Regions from separate parts of the Homo sapiens genome. Here all the other regions are linked to region 1. The links are contacts of gene promoters, found by promoter capture Hi-C in blood cells and fetal thymus (Javierre and others, 2016). All regions are on one chromosome and are shown on one strand. The core of a region is centred on a gene start or on the middle of the fragment in contact, and the rest is flanking DNA. Distances in the headings are between cores, read along the strand shown.

The links. The method cuts DNA at HindIII sites, captures the fragments that hold promoters and counts their contacts. A CHiCAGO score of 5 or more calls a contact.
Region 2: a contact is called between a fragment that was not itself captured here and the fragment with the promoter of LINC01011 in region 1, in 1 of 17 cell types (activated CD4 T cells). The highest score is 5.1, in activated CD4 T cells.
Region 3: a fragment that was not itself captured here is called in contact with the fragment with the promoter of LINC01011 in region 1 in 2 of 17 cell types (non-activated CD4 T cells and naive CD4 T cells); the score reaches 5.5 in non-activated CD4 T cells.

Annotation. Positions count from the first base shown.
Region 1 is chr6:2,985,893-2,989,550 of GRCh38, forward strand. LINC01011 (long intergenic non-protein coding RNA 1011) reads left to right here and starts at 2,075. Exons shown (of 3, transcript NR_026856.1): 1 at 2,075-2,139; 2 at 3,636-3,658. It overlaps NQO2-AS1 (NQO2 antisense RNA 1), which reads right to left. Exons shown (of 2, transcript NR_186367.1): 2 at 3,444-3,658. RefSeq lists enhancers at 2,017-2,826, 2,827-3,636, 3,637-3,658 and a silencer at 3,020-3,439. The HindIII fragment of the contact is 2,996 bases long and covers 1,496-3,658 here.
Region 2 is chr6:3,272,656-3,276,057 of GRCh38, forward strand. It overlaps SLC22A23 (solute carrier family 22 member 23), which reads right to left. Exons shown (of 10, transcript NM_015482.2): 10 at 1-757. The coding sequence ends at 400. Among named protein-coding and RNA genes, the nearest start is that of PSMG4, 15 kb to the left of the region's middle. The HindIII fragment of the contact is 825 bases long and covers 976-1,800 here.
Region 3 is chr6:3,357,877-3,361,704 of GRCh38, forward strand. All of the region lies in intron 3 of SLC22A23 (solute carrier family 22 member 23), which reads right to left. Among named protein-coding and RNA genes, the nearest start is that of SLC22A23, 97 kb to the right of the region's middle. The HindIII fragment of the contact is 3,725 bases long and covers 1-3,396 here.

The sequences.
Region 1 (3,658 bases), core at 825-3,324:
GCAGCCAGGGTCGACTGAGGGGCTACTGCAGCCTTCCTCTCTGACTCCTCCCACCTAACCATTCCCTCAATACCTCAATACACACACTCCTTTCTTTCCCAAGTCTATTGCCTCTTCCAAAAGCAATGTAAGATCCGCCCCAGAACAGTGGGGAGTTCTTATCCTTTCCGTTACCTAAGCAACCTGAGGGCAAAGACCTTTAGATCACCGGCAGTGCTGTTCTTTGGGTAACTTGATCTTTGCTTATCAGCTTTAATAACTTTATTATACGAAATACCCAGCCTTGATGAAGTATCGATGACTCACTAACTGTGGTGTAACTAATTGTTTCATTCATTCTACAAACTTTTTTTTTTTTTTTTGAGACAGAGTCTCACTCTGTTGCACAGGCTGGAGTGCAGTGGCGCGATCTCAGCTTACTGCAACTTCCACCTCCTAGGTTTGAGCGATTCTCCTGCCTCAGCCTCCTGAGTAGCTGGGATTACAGGCGCGTGCCACCACACCCGGCTATTTTTTGTATTTTTAGTAGAGACGAGGTTTCACCATGTTGGTCAGGCTGGTCTCAAACTCCTGACCTCGTGATCTGCCCACCTTGGCCTCACAAAGTGCTGGGATTACCGGCATGAGCCACCGCGCCTGGCCTCATTCTACAAACTTTTATTCTGCACTCACTATAGGCTGGGAGCTACACTAGGGCCTGGGGACATGAAGACAGGCGACACGGTCCCTGGGCTCAAGATGCCAGACAGATGTGCAAACAAGTGAAATCTGATGTGATATGTGCTTTAGTGGTGCCAAGGATAAAAGGATAAGTGTTAAGAAAAAGTAGCAACAATATGTCTGACTGGGAGAATCAAGAAAGGTGTCATAGAGTCCCTAACACTTGAGCTGAGAATGAGAAAGAGCATGAGCTGGCCAGGTGACACACAGAGCATATTCCAACCTAGGAGACTGGGAAATGGGCCAAAATATATACGTTTGAGGAAACAAATAGCTTACTATATAATTAAATATGAGGCAGTTTAGACTGGGCCCTTATGGATAAGTCACACCCATAAATTTTATTTCATCTTACAGGCAGTGGAGAGCCTCTGGAGGATTCTGAGCTTCGTGGTCTCATCATCAGAGTTATGTATGGCAACCATCCCAACCTTTTTGGCACCAGGGAGGGGTTTTGTGGAAAACTATTTTTCCTTGGACAGCAGAGGATGGTTTCGGGATGATTCAAGCACATGACACTTCTTGTGCACTTTATTTTCAGTGGGAGCCCTGAGCTTGTTTTCCTGCAACTATCTGGCCCCATGTGGGGGTGATGAAGACAACGGCAGATTATCAGGCATTAGATTCTCATAAGGAGCGCACATCCTAGATCCCTTATGTGTGCAGTTCACAGTAGGGTTTGTGCTCCTATAAGAATCTAATGCTGCCTGATCTGATAGGAGGCAGAGCTCTGGTGGTAATGCAAGCAATGGGGAGCAGCTGCACATACAGATAAAGCTTCACTAGCTCACCCACTGGTGGCTCACCTCTTGCTGTGTGTCCTGGTTCCTAACAGGCTACAGACCAGTCAGGTCTGTGGCCCGGGGGTTGGGAACTCCTGGTGTATGGAAGAGACTACTCTGCAGCAATGTGGACAAATAGGATGAGGGTGAGCTGTCAGGGGAGACAGGCACACATGGCAGAGCTATTTAAAAAGGAGGATAGATGACCAGGCACAGTGGCTCATGCCAGTAATCCCAGCACTTTGGGAGGCAGAGGCAGGCGGATCACGAGGTCAGCAGTTCAAGACCAGCCTGGCCAACATGGCAAAACCTCATCTCTGCTAAAAATACAAAAATTAGCTGGGCGTGGTGACATGCGCCTGTAATCCCAGCTACTCAGGAGGCTGAGGCAGGAGAATCACTTGAACCCGGGAGGCAAAGATTGCAGTGAGCCGAGATCGTGCCATTGCACTCTAGCCTGGGCAACACAGCAAGACTCTGACTGGAAAAAAAAAAAAAAAAAAAGGAGGATAGACAGGGCTTGGGGATTGGTGGATGGGTAGATAAGGAAGGAGGAGTCTAGCATGACTCTCAGACTACTGACTTGGACCAGCAGGGGAATGGCTGTGACAATAAATAAGATTGGGAAAACAAGAAGGTGAGCAAATTTAGAGGAGAAAATGAATTTCATTTTTGGCATGGTGTGGAAGGCTCGGGAGAGAGGTCTAGGCACCAGATGTCAACGTGAGGTGAAATGGATATAGCTGAAGTCAAGGGTGTGGTGAGGTTTTGCAGGGAGAGCAGGGACCTCCAGCAAGGCCAGTGCATAAGGGAGAATAGAGAAAAAAAGAACCAGAAAAAGACAAGGAGAGGCCAGAGAGGTGTGGAAAGAACCAGGGAAGACAGTTATTCACAACAAACAAAAGAGGGCAGAGTTTTAGAGAAGGAACTGAGCAGTTTGGGGCTCCAGGTGGGGCAGGAGTGGGTGGCCACGGTTGAGGGGCAGTGGCCTTCAAATTGGTCTGGGTAGGTTCTAATGGGTCAGATTGGTCAGTCCTTTCCAGGACACTGAAGGCTGCAGAGGTGTGACTGGATGCTGGTGGAGGGATGCATGGCGGGGAAGCTGAGTCAGATCCTGAAATCCTCCAAGCATGCGCCTGAAATGACCAAGGGAAATGAAGGCGGAGGCTGCTGTCGCCTGGTGGCCTGGGAAGGGCCAAGAGCCAGGGAGCTGGAGGGAGGAGAGAACGTGCGACCTCAGCACGGAGCACTGTAGGGGAGGCGGGGCTGGAGGGAGATGGCGCCGCGCTCCCGGATGAACAGAGAAAGCGACAGGGTGAGTCGCAGGGCACAGTGTGGGATGAGTCACCGACAGCAAGGCATGGACTCCGGGAAGAAGGGGAGACGAGCCGGGAAAGACTTGCATCGGGGATGTGAGCTGAGCTGCACCCAGACAAAAGCGGCTCGGGGCTCCTGAAAGCAGCAGGCACCGCCGGTCCTGCCAAGGGGCTACTTCCTGCGCGGAGTAGGAGAGTAGGAGACCCCAGGCCAGTCCCAATCCCCGGCCCGTCCGGGATGAGGGGGGCTGCGGGAGCTGCGGGGGCCTCCTCCAGGGAGGACGGTTGCAGGGTCCCTCGGCCGCCGCCCACTCCCGGGGGCGTTCCTTCCTCCCAGCTGCGCCCGGAGCGCCTGCTGCCTGGCGAGAGCCCGCCCCTCTGCAACCAGCCCGCTGCAGCGGAGGGCGCCTGGGTGCCCTCGGCCGAGCCAGCAGCCCACGGTCGGCGCCGCACTGTCCCCTGGTGGCGGAGCGCTCCCGCGACCCGGCTCGCCACGCCTGGGAGGGGTCCAGGAGGACGCGGCTGGGACCTGGGGGCTCTCAGGGTGGGGCCTTGGGGGATGAGGCTGGGGCCCGCGGGAAACCGGGCTGGGGCGAGGAGGCTCGCAGGACTTCCTGCCACAGAATGTTTCGATGCTTTTTTTAATTCTGCAAATGTAAGCCTTTCCACTTTAAGTCCAAGCTCAGCGCAGAGGACTGTTCTATAATACATACAATTTAGTTTAAAAATGTTGCAAATGTTAACATGTGTCACAAACTCAAGCAATCCAGTATTATAGAAAGCAAAGAATGAAATGTGCTGCTTCTTTCTCCCCCAGACGCCCTTGCATACATTAAGATA
Region 2 (3,402 bases), core at 138-2,637, 290 kb after region 1:
CTGCCAGGAGCCGTGTCCCATCTCCCCAGAGGGACCGGCCATGGCCCTGGTCACTGTGGCATCTTCCCAGAGCAACTGCGTCTCGCTGCCCAGGGAGGTGATTCCATTTGTGATCAGTGAGAGGGAGAGGGAATAAAGTGCTTCTCGTAAAAATGACCAAAATAAATACACACATTTAACGGCAGAAAAGAAAGTCTTGAAAGGGTTATTTCCAAAGAGTTTGTCTCCTCCGACCCGCGCTCCTTGGACTTTTGGAAAGACAGGATTTCCCCACACCAGTTGAGAGGCTCAGCTTGGCTGAGGCAGCTTTCCCACCCCTGGCTGCGTGTTCGGTCCCTGGTCTGTAAACCTGTGCCCAAGCTGCCCCAGACCCTGGAGCCCCGGGTTCCGCAGGCCGGGCTACATGGCCTTCATGCCGTTGGCCGTGGCACCCTCGGGCAGTGTGTCACCCGCGGCTGCGGCATCGTGGAGGCCCGAGTAGTCCTTGAGCTCGGCGTTGGTGAGCAGCAGTGGCTGCTCCCCCTTCTTGTGCGGCAGCAGCGGCTGGCGCGTGTAGTGCTCCCCGTTAGAAATGTTCTCAGGCAGGTTCTGGTCCCTGCTCTCGGGCAGCAGGAGGATGCAGATGATGCAGATGAGCGTGCAGCAGGCAAAGATGATGTGGTGCAGGAAGTAGCCTTTCTGGTTGTGCAGCTCGATGATGGGTGCCGTCAGCATGCCGAAGCCCGCGCTGGCCAGCACCAGCCCCAGCCCGCCACACCTGCAGGGGGAGGGAAGCACAGGGATTGCTGCTGTGGGCTAGCGGGCTGGATCCCGGGAAAGCTCGGGGTGGACCAGGAAGCCACCTCTGCAGGGGCCCTGCTGCCCTGGGCACTGCCCAGTATACCCCGACCTCACACGTCCCATGTCACCAGCACCCTGGCTGTGTCTGTACAAGGCCACTCTACGGCAGTGACTGTTTTTCCTCATCAAATCAAAAGCTTTTACTTAATTTATCTTTTTCTTTAATGTTTCCTATTTTTATTGTTTTTTCAGGGCTGGGGACCATGAGAACTTTATTTTGAAAGGCAGCCTTATATAATACTACTGTAAATGGGAAGCTGATATTACTTGCCATAAGTAGTATACAAGGAAAAACAAAAGGGATTGAAATTATGCCATTTCCTGAAGGCCTGGGGGATTACCAAGGGTTAAAGAGGGTACTAAGGACATACCAACACGAACAGAGACTTTCTCTTTGTCATAACTGGAGAGACTGCAAGATACTTTAAAAGAGTAGTTTCCTCACTGTGAGTTGATGGCCCACGTGTCTCCTGAAATTGCTCACATACCACCATTGGAAACGGTCCCATCTCTGAGGATTGTGCCTGAAGGGTCCCCCAAATGAAGCTGTGCACTGACAGAGAGGAACTCACTGCAGCTCTGAGCTCAGGATAACCAAAGTCCAGAAGGCAAGCCATTGATTTCCACTCCCTGCCTTGTACGGGAGCAGCCAAGAGTCCCAGGGATTAGTAGATACGCAAAACTTACAGAACCCCTATCCCTCAAACCTCTCCACTTTGACCTAAAAACACATTACTGGGACAAAGGTGTTCTGTGGCCCCTGAGAAAGCAGTGCTGTACCAGGCTGCAGTGGGACCGTGGCGCTCAGGTGTCAGGCCAGGCTAGAGAGGGCTGCCTGGTCCCCAGTTCTGGGGCCTCATTGAAGGAGGTAGGCAGAGGTGGCCTTGTCTCAAGGAAGAGGGAGTGGAGTTGTGTGCCTCGCTCCACAGCAGCAGGTAGACTGGTCCTTTGGTTTGGGGAAGCTTTCTAATGGGCTGCTCGTTAGGCACCCCCTTGAAGTGAAGAGGGCTGTATCCTTTGAACTGCTGAGGCTGAGTGGGCTGAAAGGGAGGTCCCTGCAACAGGTAGGAGGCAGGTAGATAACTCCAGCTCTTGACTAGTCTGTGGTTCTCTTGGTTGGCACTATAGGTAGCTCCTAACTCACCAAAAGACTGTCCTACAAGGTCACAAGATAAAAGATCAACATACAAAAGTCAATTATATGTCTACGTGCTAGCAACACCCAAAAATGAAAATGCCATTCACAATAACATCCAATGAATAAAATGTTTAGAAATAAATAACAAAGGAATGCAAGACTTGTATGCTGAAAAAGATAAAACATTGCTGAAAATTAAAAGATAAAAATAAATGGAGTGACATTCCATGTTCATGAATTAGAAGACTAAATATTATAAAGATGGTAATTTTTCCCAAATTGATCTATACATTCCACATAATCCCTATCAAAATTCCAGGTGACTTTTTTTTTTTTTCAGAAAACAGCCAATTCTAAAATTTATATGGAAATGCAAAAGACTCAGAGTAGTCAAAAACAATTTTGGAAAAGAACAAAGAAGGCTTGCCTTCCCAGTTTCAAAACTATAAAGCCATACGGCTTAAGGCAGTGTGGTGTTGGTGTATATATCAATAGATCAATGGAACAGAACTGGGAGTTCAGAAACTAACCTTCACATTTATGGTCAACTGACTGTAGATGGAGGCAAATCCAGTGAGGGGGAAGGGATAGTTTTTTCAACAGGTGGTGCTGGGACAACAGGATATTCATGTGCAAAAGAATGATGTTGGACCCTTCACATCATGTAAAAAAATGAACTCAAAATGGATAATAAAATCTAAGTGCTTAACTTAGCTCAAACTATAACGCTTCTAGAAGAAAACAAGAGAAAAGCTTTATGACGTTGGGTTAGGCAAAGATTTCTTACACATAACATCAAAAGTAGGATCCATAAAAGAAAAAGCTGATCAATTGGACTTCATTAGGATTAAAAACTCCTACCCTTCAAAAGATACATGTTTAAGAAAAAAAGACCATAGACTGGGAGAAAATATTCGTGAAGCATATATCAGATAAAGGACTTGTAACTAGAATATATAAAGAACTTTTTTTTGAGAGTCTCACTGTCGCACAGGCTGGAGTGTAGTGGCATGATCTCGGCTCACTGCAAGCTCTGCCTCCCAGGTTCATGTCATTCTCCTGCCTCAGCCTCCTGAGTAGCTGGGACTATAGGCGCGTGCCACCATGCCCAGCTAATTTTTTGTATTTTTAGTAGAGTCGGGGTTTCGCTGTGTTAGCCAGGGTGGTCTTGATCTCCTAACCTCGTGATCCACCCGCCTTGGCCTCCCAAAGTGTTGGGATTACAGGCGTGAGCCACCACGCCACTCTTATAACTCAAAAAGAAGACAGATAATCCAGTAAAAAGATGGGCAGGCCAGACACAGTGGCTCATGCCCAAAGAGGCTTGGGCAAAGGTGACCTGGGCAGGGAGGATGGGAGTCCCAGGGTTCCCAGGTGGCCCTCATAAACCAGATATACACAGGTCTATGCTAATAACCCCAGGA
Region 3 (3,828 bases), core at 284-2,783, 370 kb after region 1:
AGGGACGAGGCCTGGGGAAGACTTCACCAAAGAAGCAGCATTTGAATCTTCCCTTAAGGGAAAAGGAAGTAGGACTGTCCTGCCATGTGGGTGAGGGGAAGGGAAGAGGCCTGGGAGGAGAGTTTTCAGAGAGGCAACCAGCTCTTGCAAAGGCGGCCAGTGCAGAAGAGGCTAGACAGGTTAGGTTCTCAGTATCAAAGTCCCCAGGATGGAGAGAAATTGGAACCTTTAAACACTGTTGGTAGGGATGCAAAAATGGTGCAGCCATTATGGAAAACAGTATGGCAGTTCCTCAAAAAACTAAAACTAGAACTGCCATATGATCCAGTGATTCTACTTCCAGGTACTTATCCAAAAGAATTGAAATTAGGATCTCAAAGCACTTGACGTGAGCGCTCCCACGTTCACTGCAGTGTTATCCACAACAGCCAAGATATGGAAACAACGCAGAGGTCCACTGATAGGTGAAGGGACACACGAAACACAGTGAAAAATACAATAGAATATGATTCCGCTTAAGAACGAATGAAATTCTGACACGTACGACACGTGGATGAACTTGGAGGAATTATGTTAAGTGAAATAAGCCAGTCACAGAAGGACAAATACTACATGATTCCACTTACATGAGGCATGTAAAAATAGGCAAATTCAGAAAATCAAAGAGTGGGCTGATGGTTGCCGGGGGTAGAGGGAGGGAGACATGGGGAGTTGCTCGTCAACTAGCATCAGCTTTCAGGCAGGCGAGATGAATAAGCTCTGGAACTCTGCTGCACACATTGTGTCTATAGTTCACGATACTGTGCTGTACACTGAAAAAACCTGTTAAGAGGGTGGGTCTCATGTTAGATGTTCTTACCACAAATAAAATTAAAAAATAAAATAAAAAAGGCCCCAGGAGAGTTTCTGTTTCATCAACCCAAGGAAAACACCGGAAGGAGTCACAGCTCCAGTGAGGAAGAAGTGAGAAGGGATCTGCCATCGGGGGCTGGAGGGATGGTGGGAACCTTTGCCATTTCAAAGGGAAGCCCTGGCTCCCCTCGGGCACAGCATCCTGGGTGGGGTCTGCACCCCGAGCTGCCACCCATTGCATTTCCATGTCAGCGCCATGTCAGGTGCGCTGTGCCGATGTCTAATCAAGTCTCAGTCATTCAGGATGAAGAGAGAATAGGGAATTCAAAATACATAACTGCAAAAATGAAAGCTCCTTTATTAATTTAGTGCAATACAGAGACGTCCCAGAACAACACGGGCTGCATCCAGAATCACAGATCATTTCAACTAAGAAAAAGATGGGCACCGAGAAGGAGAGCGAGGAACATGCCAGCTGAGACTCATTTCATTCTAGGACAGTACTAGAATGAGCATCTCACTGGGAATTCACCGCCCTCAGGCAGATAACAGATGCTGCTAAGCTATGCTAGCTGGTGTTGCCACGTTTATTCTTCATCACTGAGTGGTTCTCCTTAGGTCACACATATAACTATCCATCTGAGTGCAAGTTTAAAACAAAACAAAAACTGAAGAGGACATACAGATGGCCAAGAAGCACATGGAAAGATGCTCAACGTCACTGTCATCGGGGAAATGTACATCACAGCGACAATGTGGTAGCCCTTCACATCCATCAGGATGGTAGCTGCTGTCAAACAAACAGGAAATAACAAGTGCTGACAAGAATGTGGGGAAACTGGAACCCTGGTGCACCAGTACATTCCTGGTGGGAATGTACAACGGTGCAGCCAACTGGAGAAAACAATATCCCTGTTCTTCATAGAATTAAACAGAGGATTACCATCTGACTCAGCAATGCCACTTTTGGGTATAACCCCCCAAAAGTGAAAGCAAGGACCTGAAATGATATTTGCACACCTATGTTCACGGCAGCATATTCACAACAGCCAAAAGGTGGGAGCAACGCAGGTGTCCATCAACAGATGAATGGATAAGAAAATGTGATCCATCCAGAGGATGAAATATAACTCAGCCTTAAAAAGGGAGGCCATATCCAACATATGCTATAGTATAAAGGAAGCATTTTTTCTTTTTTTCTTATTTTCACTTATTTTTGTCCTTAGAGGTCCTTGTTCTGAGGGAATCCTGAAGACATTATGCTAAGTGAAGTAAGCCAGTCACAAAAGGACAAATATTGCATGATCCACTTAAATAGGTTCTTAGGTAGGCAAATTCATAGAAACAGAAAGTAGAAGGGTGGCTGCTCGGGACTAAGGGATGGGAATGGGGAGTGTTTATTGGGGACAGAGTTTGTTTGGGAAGATGAAAAGACCTCTAGAGATGAAGGGTGGTGATGGCTGTGTAAAAATGTGAATTACTTAATGCCACTGAATGGTACAATTAAAAGTAGTTAAAATGGTAATTTTTATGCTATGTTTATTTTACCATGATAAAACAAACACCCCCCTCCAAATAAAACAACAACAAAAAAGGCAAGTCCGTAGTATTGGCCTTTGAGAGCTCTGACCTCAGCTGTGCCCCGCCCACCCATCCACCCAAGGATCCTTAAACTCAGGAGGATCAGAAAGGCTCAATCACCAGGAGGTGAGGTGAGTCACAGAGCTCACTGCATTGCCATTCTTGGGGGCATTTGTCTCATCTGCCTTAAAATACAGAACTGCATTCTCATAGTCGGGTTTCAGGCAACGGCTCAACCGTGGAGGGAGGTCACTTTGGGGCCTTTGCACACATCCGAGTCAACCTCAACAGTCTTAGTCCACACATCTCTGTATTTCCGGTCACTTATTGCTATGCTGACTGCTCATCTAAGCCCCAGATACTGTCCCAGTTATTTAGGAGACAAAGAGGCCCTCAAGCTGGCCTGAGCCCCCAAGGGGTCCTCAGTGATGTCGACACGACAGGTGTGCAGGCACCCCCATGCAGACGGGCCCCTCTGATGGAGACCTGCGTTCGGCCAGGCAGGCCCACAGCTGGCGTGGTCATCCAGGGCGGGAACGGGATTGGACGAAGCCTTCCCTCGGGCAAAGATGCTGGGGTGGGGAACAGGTGCAGCAGGAACAGAAGGTCAGAGCGTGGTACTGGGGTGACGAGAGGCGCTAGCGAACATCAGCAGCTGCGGGGAGCTCGAGGCAGCAGGGATGTCCAGGCCACAGAAGGTGTCCCACATTTTATATTCCTGTTGTTTGTATATTTTCTATTTCTACCCACCCCCCCCATTTTATGCCTGACCCCAAGTTAAACTGCTTAAGGACTTAAGACCCCAACCAGCTGTGACTTAGATCAGGGTTTCTCCCCCAAAGGAGCCTGCAGCAGTGTCACACAGAACACACCCCCTCAACTGTCTTTCTACTGAAAAAAAAGAGAGGGAAACGTGCTTCAATAAGAGGGACACAGGGACCCCCAAGCCCTGCCCTTTAGAGAAGCTTAAAGACTCCTACATCATTCTTTTTTTTTTTTTTTTTAAGGAATTGGGTCCCTTCCATCTGTGGCCATGACCGTTCATCCCACAGCCTGTCCTCCTCTCTTGAGAGCTGTCCTGGCTCAGGCTGTGGCTGGATTCTCAAGCAGCATCATGTGGCCAGGTTAGGAGCAGGATGTCACAGAGAGAGGGGTCCAAAGTTCAGCTGCTGGGAAAGGCCACAAAGACTGGGGTCCCAGGAGAACGGCGACCTGCCTATCAGTTCTATCTCTAAAACTCTGGGGTTCGACTCTCCAGACTTAGCTTCTGTTCCCAGCTTTACAGAGGACAAGGGGCTGGGCCCATGAGTCTCTCTGCATCAGCAACACCTCACTCTCAGTTGAATTCAGACTCGAAAGCCCAGTCTCAACACAGCAAGCCCCATGGGATCCAAG